Regions from separate parts of the Homo sapiens genome. Here region 1 is linked to region 2. The links are contacts of gene promoters, found by promoter capture Hi-C in blood cells and fetal thymus (Javierre and others, 2016). All regions are on one chromosome and are shown on one strand. The core of a region is centred on a gene start or on the middle of the fragment in contact, and the rest is flanking DNA. Distances in the headings are between cores, read along the strand shown. Region 1 overlaps KIF13B (kinesin family member 13B). Region 2 holds the start of PURG (purine rich element binding protein G).

Evidence for each region. Contacts are between HindIII fragments. The CHiCAGO score rates a contact against its expected background, and 5 or more counts as called.
Region 1: a fragment that was not itself captured here is called in contact with the fragment with the promoter of PURG in region 2 in 1 of 17 cell types (non-activated CD4 T cells); the score reaches 5.5 in non-activated CD4 T cells.

Annotation. Positions count from the first base shown.
Region 1 is chr8:29,258,096-29,262,106 of GRCh38, forward strand. The region is part of intron 1 of KIF13B (kinesin family member 13B); the gene reads right to left. Among named protein-coding and RNA genes, the nearest start is that of KIF13B, 3.0 kb to the right of the region's middle. The HindIII fragment of the contact is 3,145 bases long and covers 615-3,759 here.
Region 2 is chr8:31,031,176-31,035,314 of GRCh38, forward strand. PURG (purine rich element binding protein G) reads right to left here and starts at 2,181. Exons shown (of 2, transcript NM_001323311.2): 1 at 1,903-2,181; 2 at 1-1,613. The coding sequence starts at 1,607. The coding sequence ends at 564. It overlaps WRN (WRN RecQ like helicase), which reads left to right and starts at 2,635. Exons shown (of 35, transcript NM_000553.6): 1 at 2,635-2,798. RefSeq lists silencers at 2,163-2,212, 2,373-2,632, 3,603-3,672 and enhancers at 2,388-2,909, 3,743-3,792. The HindIII fragment of the contact is 5,494 bases long and covers 690-4,139 here.

The DNA.
Region 1 (4,011 bases), core at 937-3,436, 1.8 Mb before region 2:
TCTGTCAGTGATCTCTCTGAGAATACTGAAGAATCACCAATGACCCCAGGGGTCAAAGCCACCTTCTCCTGTCCCTTCATTTCCTAAGGGTCACCTCTATCTTCACTGACTACCAGCATCTTCTAAGCTTCCTCGCACTTGCTGGGTTTTTCCTTTGCCTGTTGATTCACAGCTGCTTAATTTTGACCGACTTCCTTATGCTTCCCATTCACAAGGCTTCATTTTCAGCAAGCGCTTTTAAATCCTGCCCAGCTATGCCAGAAATCGGTCATCTACTGAAGCTTCCAATCTTGCTTTGGGATCTAGCAATCTTTCCCCGTTGTGTTTGTGTCCAAGCCCCATACAAGGTCCCAAGAAGCAAAACAGAGTGCGTGGACCAGCCACCCTAGGTCCGGACTTCTGGCCTGGCTGCTTTCAGGGCTTCCTGCAATCCACCTGACCTTTCCTGTCCCATCATTCTCTAGCTATCCTCACAGAATCTCCATTCTGGCAGGCAGATCTCATCTCTGCTGCCTAAACCTGCTTTACTCATTCTAGTCTCTGTGTCCTCACTCTCAGGCCATACTTCCTCCTCAAAGAATACATGCCATCCCCTCTCCCGTGCTCACATCATAAGCTTCCTCCCTGGAAGTCCAACCAAAGTTCACCCTCCTCAGTGAAGTCTAAACTCCTCTCGATTCCCTTATTTCCCTGTCATTCACCTGGCACTTAGTAACTAGCAGCCTGCTACAGCTGTTTACCTTTTAATCTAATCTTTTCACAGGCATTTTCTTTTCAAGCCCATGACAGTCATTTCCTCACAGGCATGAACCATAAAGCATGCTTTAAGAAACTGAATATGATGGTAACAGGCAACCCTAAGAAAACTTTTAGGAAGTAAAATCCCCCTAACAAGAACAATCAATTTCACTTTTTCATGTTTCTTTCTAGCTCTTGCCCATTCCTGTATACATTTTTACATAGTAATAATAATAGATTTGATCAGTTACACGTACAGCTTTACATTCTTTTTCCACTAACAGAGAAAACGATCTTCCTTGTTAAATGGTTTTGACTGTCATCATTTTAATCGCTGTATAATAGTCCCTCCATTGAGATACTAGATCATGATTACCAAGGCACTGACTCTACATTGACTCTATTAGACATTATTACATACTTCTGTGTCTTTCACCACATCAAGTATTGGAAAATGCCAAGTAAACTCATTTGAAATATCTCCTGAAATAAATTTCTTGTCCATTCTCCCTAACACCTGAAATAATCTATTTCACTGTTTCTATCTTCATTTCTTTCGTTTCCCGGTTCTACCCCCTTAGGCTAGGTAGGTAACAAAGGTATTCCAAACACCTTTTATAGATATTTACTTATTTTGGTAGTTGATCTTATACAGATTTACACACAGGAAATCCCTTGAGGAAAAGCATTAAGATCTCATCCTATCTAATATAAGCCAGATACCTGGCAGGCACTCAATCAATGTTTGCTTACCTATTAAATGTTTTTTAAGCCACCTAAAGTTAGAAAACATCAAATTCCTGGAAAGGAGAATGTTGCTGATCTAACTAATCCCACCAATTACGGCTACAGAACTTTCAGCTCCTGTAATGATTAGACGGGTTAATAATGTATGAATGGGTGTTCTGTGCGGCACATGGAAGCACACAAGAATTATCTGTTTAGCTGTACAGTCTGAACAACAACACTGGAAAACAAACGATATCTGCAAATAGAACTTGAAGATCTTGTGACAAAAATTTACCCTTTTCTCTAGTTGTTTAGCTTTGCATCTCAGATGAAGAAAGGCAAAATAAAGGTTGTAATATTAAAATTATGTAAAATTACATACACGTGTGAGCACAAACTGGCATGGAAATGAAAAGCTGTTAGGATGAAGAAAGTATGTGAACTTTTTTCTTTTTCTTTTTCCTTTTGTTAGTGGAATGTTAAAATAAATGTATGACTAGACAAATATTTCTGACAAATTAGCCATTACAACTCTTCCTGTTACTGAATTAGGGCCTAATGCTTAACCTTCAAATAACTAAGGTTCCCAAACCCACATACAGTTTAGCAGAAAGACTAAAATACTCTCACTTCGAGGATAACTGTTAAATAATAAATCAGCTAACCACCTTAAAACTCCAAACACCTAAGCACAACCACTGAATCACACAAGAACTTAATACACCAGAGTTTTCTGGAAATTTTCAGATTTTCCTCAAAAGATAGCTAATGTGATTCCAAATATCAGAGTCTACACAGTAAAACTACATCATCACAGTAACCCATTCTCATCCCCGTCCTCTTTTATAGATAGCGATTTATAAGGTTGCTTCCGGCACCTATATGATAGAAACTATTAGGACTCAAGTTTTACTCTTTGTCATAATTATACAGTATTACATAATACTAATAACTGTTCAAAGTAATATTCTTTTCAAAATTACTGGAAAGGTTCCTACAGATCATACAAGGAAGAAAAAAAAGGAAATTACTGGAAAGAAATATGGTTTTGTTTTAGTCTTTTTTTTTTTTGAGACAGAGTTTCACTCTTGTCGCCCAGGGTGGAGCACAGTGGCACGATCTTGGCTCACTGCAACCTCCGCCTCCTGGGTTCAGGCTATTCTCCCGCCTCAGCCTCCTTAGTAGCTGGGATTACAGGCGTCCACCACCACGCCCGGCTAATTTTTTGTATTTTTAGTAGAGACAGGGTTTTGCCATGTTAGGCAGGCTGGTCTCGAACTCCTGACCTCAGGTGATCCACCCGCCTCGGCCTCCCAAAGTGCTGGGATTATAAGCGTAAGCCACCGTGCCTGGCCTGTTTTAGTCTTTTTATACAAACTTTGGACACCAATTTTTAAAAATCACTGGATTTACAATCCCACCACACTGTATTCCATAATAACCTTTATATTTATGTGAACAATTACTTCATAACAAAAATGGAAAAGAACAAATTTATGTGTGGTAATCACTGAAAAAAGAAGTCCACATGCACGTCAGGAAATATAAGGCTAAGAATGGGCACTAAGTGAACACAGGAGGTACTTTACACCAAATAATGCACTTCTCTATATAGGCTAATGGAATCTATGGGTAAACCTCAATTTCAAAATGATTGTTGAACCCAAGGATCAGCTCACATCCGTTCCACAGCTAAAACTATTATTCTTTGCCTTCCTCTAAACTCTGATGTTTATTACAACCTTATCAATGGCAATTTATAAGAGAAAAGCATAAGAATTTCCCTCAAAAAGTGAAACCAATGGGGAAAGGGAGAGGGAAAGGGCTCTAAATATCTGAGATGTCTTTTGTGGTGGTTGGTTAGCGGCCTCTTTTTAGCACTGACATTTCCAAGTTTTTTGTGAAAAGGAAATTTTAAGAATGTGCTGAAACCATCCTTTCAGAATCAATTCCCAGATAAGTTATGTTTCATTTGGCTTCTTTCTTTAAATTATTGTGATGGTAAACTGGAAGTAAACTGAAATACAGATACCTGAATATTTAAAAACTGATGCTTCTGAAAATTTTCAGAATTGTATCGACGTTTATTGTGTGTTGTCAGAGCACGAGATTAGTGAAGCAAAGCAGGACTCAATCTTGCACTAGTTGAGAACTTAAAGTAATTAAGTTCTTAGGGAAAAAAACTCACCTGACAGCTTTAATCGGACCTAGCAGGAACAGGACAAAACAATTCCCATAGATGAGATAACTCCAAGCGAGAAACCAATTTCCCCGAGAAGGACAAACCAACAAAGCTTATGTCAACTGGTTGATCTGTATGTCTCAATATATACAAAAGAAAGCAAAGAAGAGGAAAACAACCTATAATTTCTACATAAAAATTAAACAACACTTGATTTTGCTAAGAAGCTACAACTTTGTCTCTGGTACTTAAATGATTCTAATTAGTTCAAAGTCTCATCAATGGCAAAGTCATCTCCTGAGACAGTAATAGTGACCCCCAATGACAGGACCTTGTATATAAAGCGTTTTCAAACACATTAT
Region 2 (4,139 bases), core at 931-3,430:
TTTTAAGGTTTAATTAGGTAATAAGATTTGATCCTTTGATGGTATATTCAGTTATTCAACGGACAATATACGTCTACTTGTACTTTTATAAGTAAATATTTATATATACCGGAGGTCAATTTCTGTTTCTGTGGTAACTGCCCTACAGGTAAGCTTAGCAGCTTTTAATGAAGTAGAATTGAAATACTTTTGGGGGAAAGTCACACTTCTATTTAAGTATATGTATCTTTTTTCGGGATTATGTCATAGTGCAATGTAAATCTTAGTTATGGTATTTAGAATGTCAGAATGTCACATTTTGTGCTGATTTGCATACTTCAATAGTCTGGAGCAGTTGAAGCAGCTAAACTATTTAGCTCTGGGAAGGTTGGAATTCCCGTAAGAATTATAGTGATCTATGTGTAACATAACATGAGAATCAGACTTCCTGAAGTATCAACTACTAGAGGTATTACTAATAACAACGGGCCAAAAAAGAGGAAAAACTTCTTCAAAGGATAATGGATCAGTACTTTTAGCCAATTTGTGATTTTAAATTTTGCCTGATGGAGTTCAATTTCACTCTAGTCGAGGCATTCTTGTTCTTCACCACTGGCCTTTCTGCCATCCATTCTCTTTTCTTTATGGCTGTTGCAAATTTTCCTCATCTCTTCTTCATACTTGATAAAATTCTCCCCAAACCTTGTCCAAGCTTTGAATGGAACAGTAATAGTATTACGGTAAGGTGGTCTCACCTCACTTACCTTCAGGAAAATTCCATATTTATTAGAGCCCACATCAAAGTAGAACCTTTTATTGTCCACTCTGAAAGAAGTCCCCTCTGGGAGTTCAAGCGGGTCATCGTCTCCACCTCTTCGTTCTTCTATGTCTCCTTCGCCATAGTCTTCAATCAGCTGAACCAAGGCATCACGAAACTCAATCATTCCTTGTGCTGGGAGGACAATAGTCTGTTCTTGGCCCAAACTGTGGCCAAAATAACCTATCATGCCAGTCCCCCGCATCATGGTTTGTCTAATCCGTAGGAAGCGACCCCGCTGATTTTCCTTTAGGTCTAGGTAATATTTCCTATTGTCCCTCTCGATATAGTCTGTTTTCAGGACACTGTGAGGATGCTCTTCGGACCCCACCGAGACTGGTGGGGAGGGTGCCGAGTGCTTCTGCCTCCTTCTGGAGCCTTGCTCTTTGCTGTGGCCATGCTCTTGCCGGTGGCCTTTCAGGCCCAGGTGGGCATAGTGCTCGATGAAGTCCCCTAGACAGTCCTTCAGCTCCGCTGCCACAGACAGGGAGAGGGTCAGTTTACTCTTTCTGATGTTGTCCTGCCGGCCTCTCCCTATCCAGACTTCGGCTATCTTTAGGAAGCGGCCCCGGGAGCTTTGCTTCACGTCTAGGTAAAACCTCTTTTTCTGGATGTCCACTCGTTTGGAGGCCAGCTCCTGGATTTCGGCTGCGCCCCCGGCCTGATTAGGGGTGGCTGAGGCCGCGTAGTGGGGGTAGTGGGAGTGCTGGGCCTGGGGATAGAGTCTACTCTTGCTTAGGCCAGAGCCCCCTACATTCTTGCCTCCGCGGCCGCGGCCGCCGCCGCCTCCCCTTCGCCTGGCTCTTTCCATCTTCAGCTGCAAGTAACAAACAGACACACGGGATGGGGTGGGGGAGGGGTGTTGAGAACAATCGCAGACGCCCCTCGGCCTGACCGCCCCGCCGCCGCCCGCGACCCCCACGCCGGGCCCGGCTCCCCCGGCGCCGCAGCGCGGGGCTCCAGCCACTGCCGGCCGGTTGGCGGCCGCCGCTCCGGCTCTGCCCGCGCTCCCCGCATCCCTCCGCCGCCCCCGGGGCCGCTCCCGCACGCCGCCGCCGCCCGTCCCGCGCTCCGCGGCCCCAGGTCTCCAGCCGGCGGGCACTCACATCATCTCTGCCATCACCGCCGCCGCCGATGCCCTTCACGACCACCGCCGCCGCCACCGCCAGCTCTCGGCCCCTCTGCTGCAGCCGCCGCAGCCGCCGCCCCCCGCCTCCTCCCCCGCCGCCGCCGCTCGCACTGCCCCCCGCCGGAGCAGCCGGGCAGGGGCATCGCCCGCGGCGCCCACCGCAGCCGCCCCTCCTGCGGCCGCTGCGGGGGCCGCCGCCTGACTTCGGACACCGGCCCCGCACCCGCCAGGAGGGGAGGGAAGGGGAGGCGGGGAGAGCGACGGCGGGGGGCGGGCGGTGGACCCCGCCTCCCCCGGCACAGCCTGCTGAGGGGAAGAGGGGGTCTCCGCTCTTCCTCAGTGCACTCTCTGACTGAAGCCCGGCGCGTGGGGTGCAGCGGGAGTGCGAGGGGACTGGACAGGTGGGAAGATGGGAATGAGGACCGGGCGGCGGGAATGTTCTCACTTCTCCGGATTCCACCGGGATGCAGGACTCTAGCTGCCCAGCCGCACCTGCGAAGAGACTACACTTCCCGAGGTGCTCAGCGGCAGCGAGGGCCTCCACGCATGCGCACCGCGGCGCGCTGGGCGGGGCTGGATGGGCTGTGGTGGGAGGGTTGCAGCGCCGCGAGAAAGGCGAGCCGGGCCGGGGGCGGGGAAAGGGGTGGGGCAGGAACGGGGGCGGGGACGGCGCTGGAGGGGCGGGTCGGGTAGGTCTCCCGGAGCTGATGTGTACTGTGTGCGCCGGGGAGGCGCCGGCTTGTACTCGGCAGCGCGGGAATAAAGTTTGCTGATTTGGTGTCTAGCCTGGATGCCTGGGTTGCAGGCCCTGCTTGTGGTGGCGCTCCACAGTCATCCGGCTGAAGAAGACCTGTTGGACTGGATCTTCTCGGGGTAAAGTGTCTTCCTATTCCCGTTTTCCCAGCTCCGTGCCCCGGGGTATCTATAGTGCTAGGCTTCTGAGACACGTGGAGGCGCTTAGGCCCGCGGAGCAGGCCCCTGGGCTGTGTTTGGGAGATTCTGGAAAAACAGACTTTCTCCCTTTTCCTTTCCCCTCTGGAGCAGCTGGGAAAGGCGTCTCTCGGAGCTTCCGCCATTCAGAAAGTGTTTCCCCGCCCCTGACGGCCCCAGCTTGATGTTTACCTTGCGCGCTTAGTTAGGATTGCTCTTTCTAGTACGGCCTTTATTATGGCAGAAATTGAGCCACTACAGGTCTGCACAGCAAAGTCGAGGGAAATAACCTGCTGTCTATGATTTAGCAAGTGATGATGGATATTTTTGAGTTCAAATCACTCAGTCTTTAATGGATTTTCTTTTCTTTTTTTCCTAGTTGAATCTCAGTTGTTCTCAGGCTAGGTTTGATATGAAAAATACTACTCCCTATTGAAGAGGGTAATATAATTCTTAGGATGCTAATACAGGAGTCTGTAAGTCGGAGTACTTCAGGCTTTTTATGGTTCGGTACATTTCTTTTTAGGGGTGGGATATTGGGATAAGTAGGACAGTTCAGATCTTGATGTCATTGAATAGTGGTGTCTACCTAAAAGGAAGAGGCTGGGGCACAAAATTATAATTTAAAGTGTTTACTTCAGCCAAAATGAGGACAGCTGCCCAGGACTCATTTCCCAGTTGCCTTGGGGAGTGCTCCTTCAGCCTTGGTTACAAGCAGGTTTTTAAAGGCGAAGGGGAAGAGTGGGCTGAGACAAAGTTGGTCAGGAATTGTTATTGGTTTACAGAGATACCATTGCTTAGTGATTGGCTGTACACTGTAACTCATAGGGTATGAGTTATCGTGTCCAGCATATGGCATTTTATGGCTTCTTGGTTCCAGTCTAGAGCCCATATAGCAGGTGGGCTTTAAGAGATAATTATCCAGCTCAGACCGGGAGTGAGACGGGACTGTTTTTTCATTCTAATGCCTCTCTGGGCCTGATAATTTAAAGGGGCTTGCATTCTTCAGCTAAAATTTTATTTTCTTTTATTTTTTTTCCCCCACAGTGGTCTCCCTTTATTAATCCAACAAATGTTTATTAAGGACTGCTCTAGGCACTAGAGATACCAACAATGAACAAAACAGACAAACATCTCTCTCCTTTTGGAGCTTACATTTTAGTGGAAAGAGACAGGCAAAAAGTAAAATTATAGGATGACAGAAGGTGAAAATAGAGATTAAAAAGGAAAGGGGGATGAAGAGTGTGTGTGTGTGTTGTGGGTGGGGGGCTGTAGGGAGCTGCA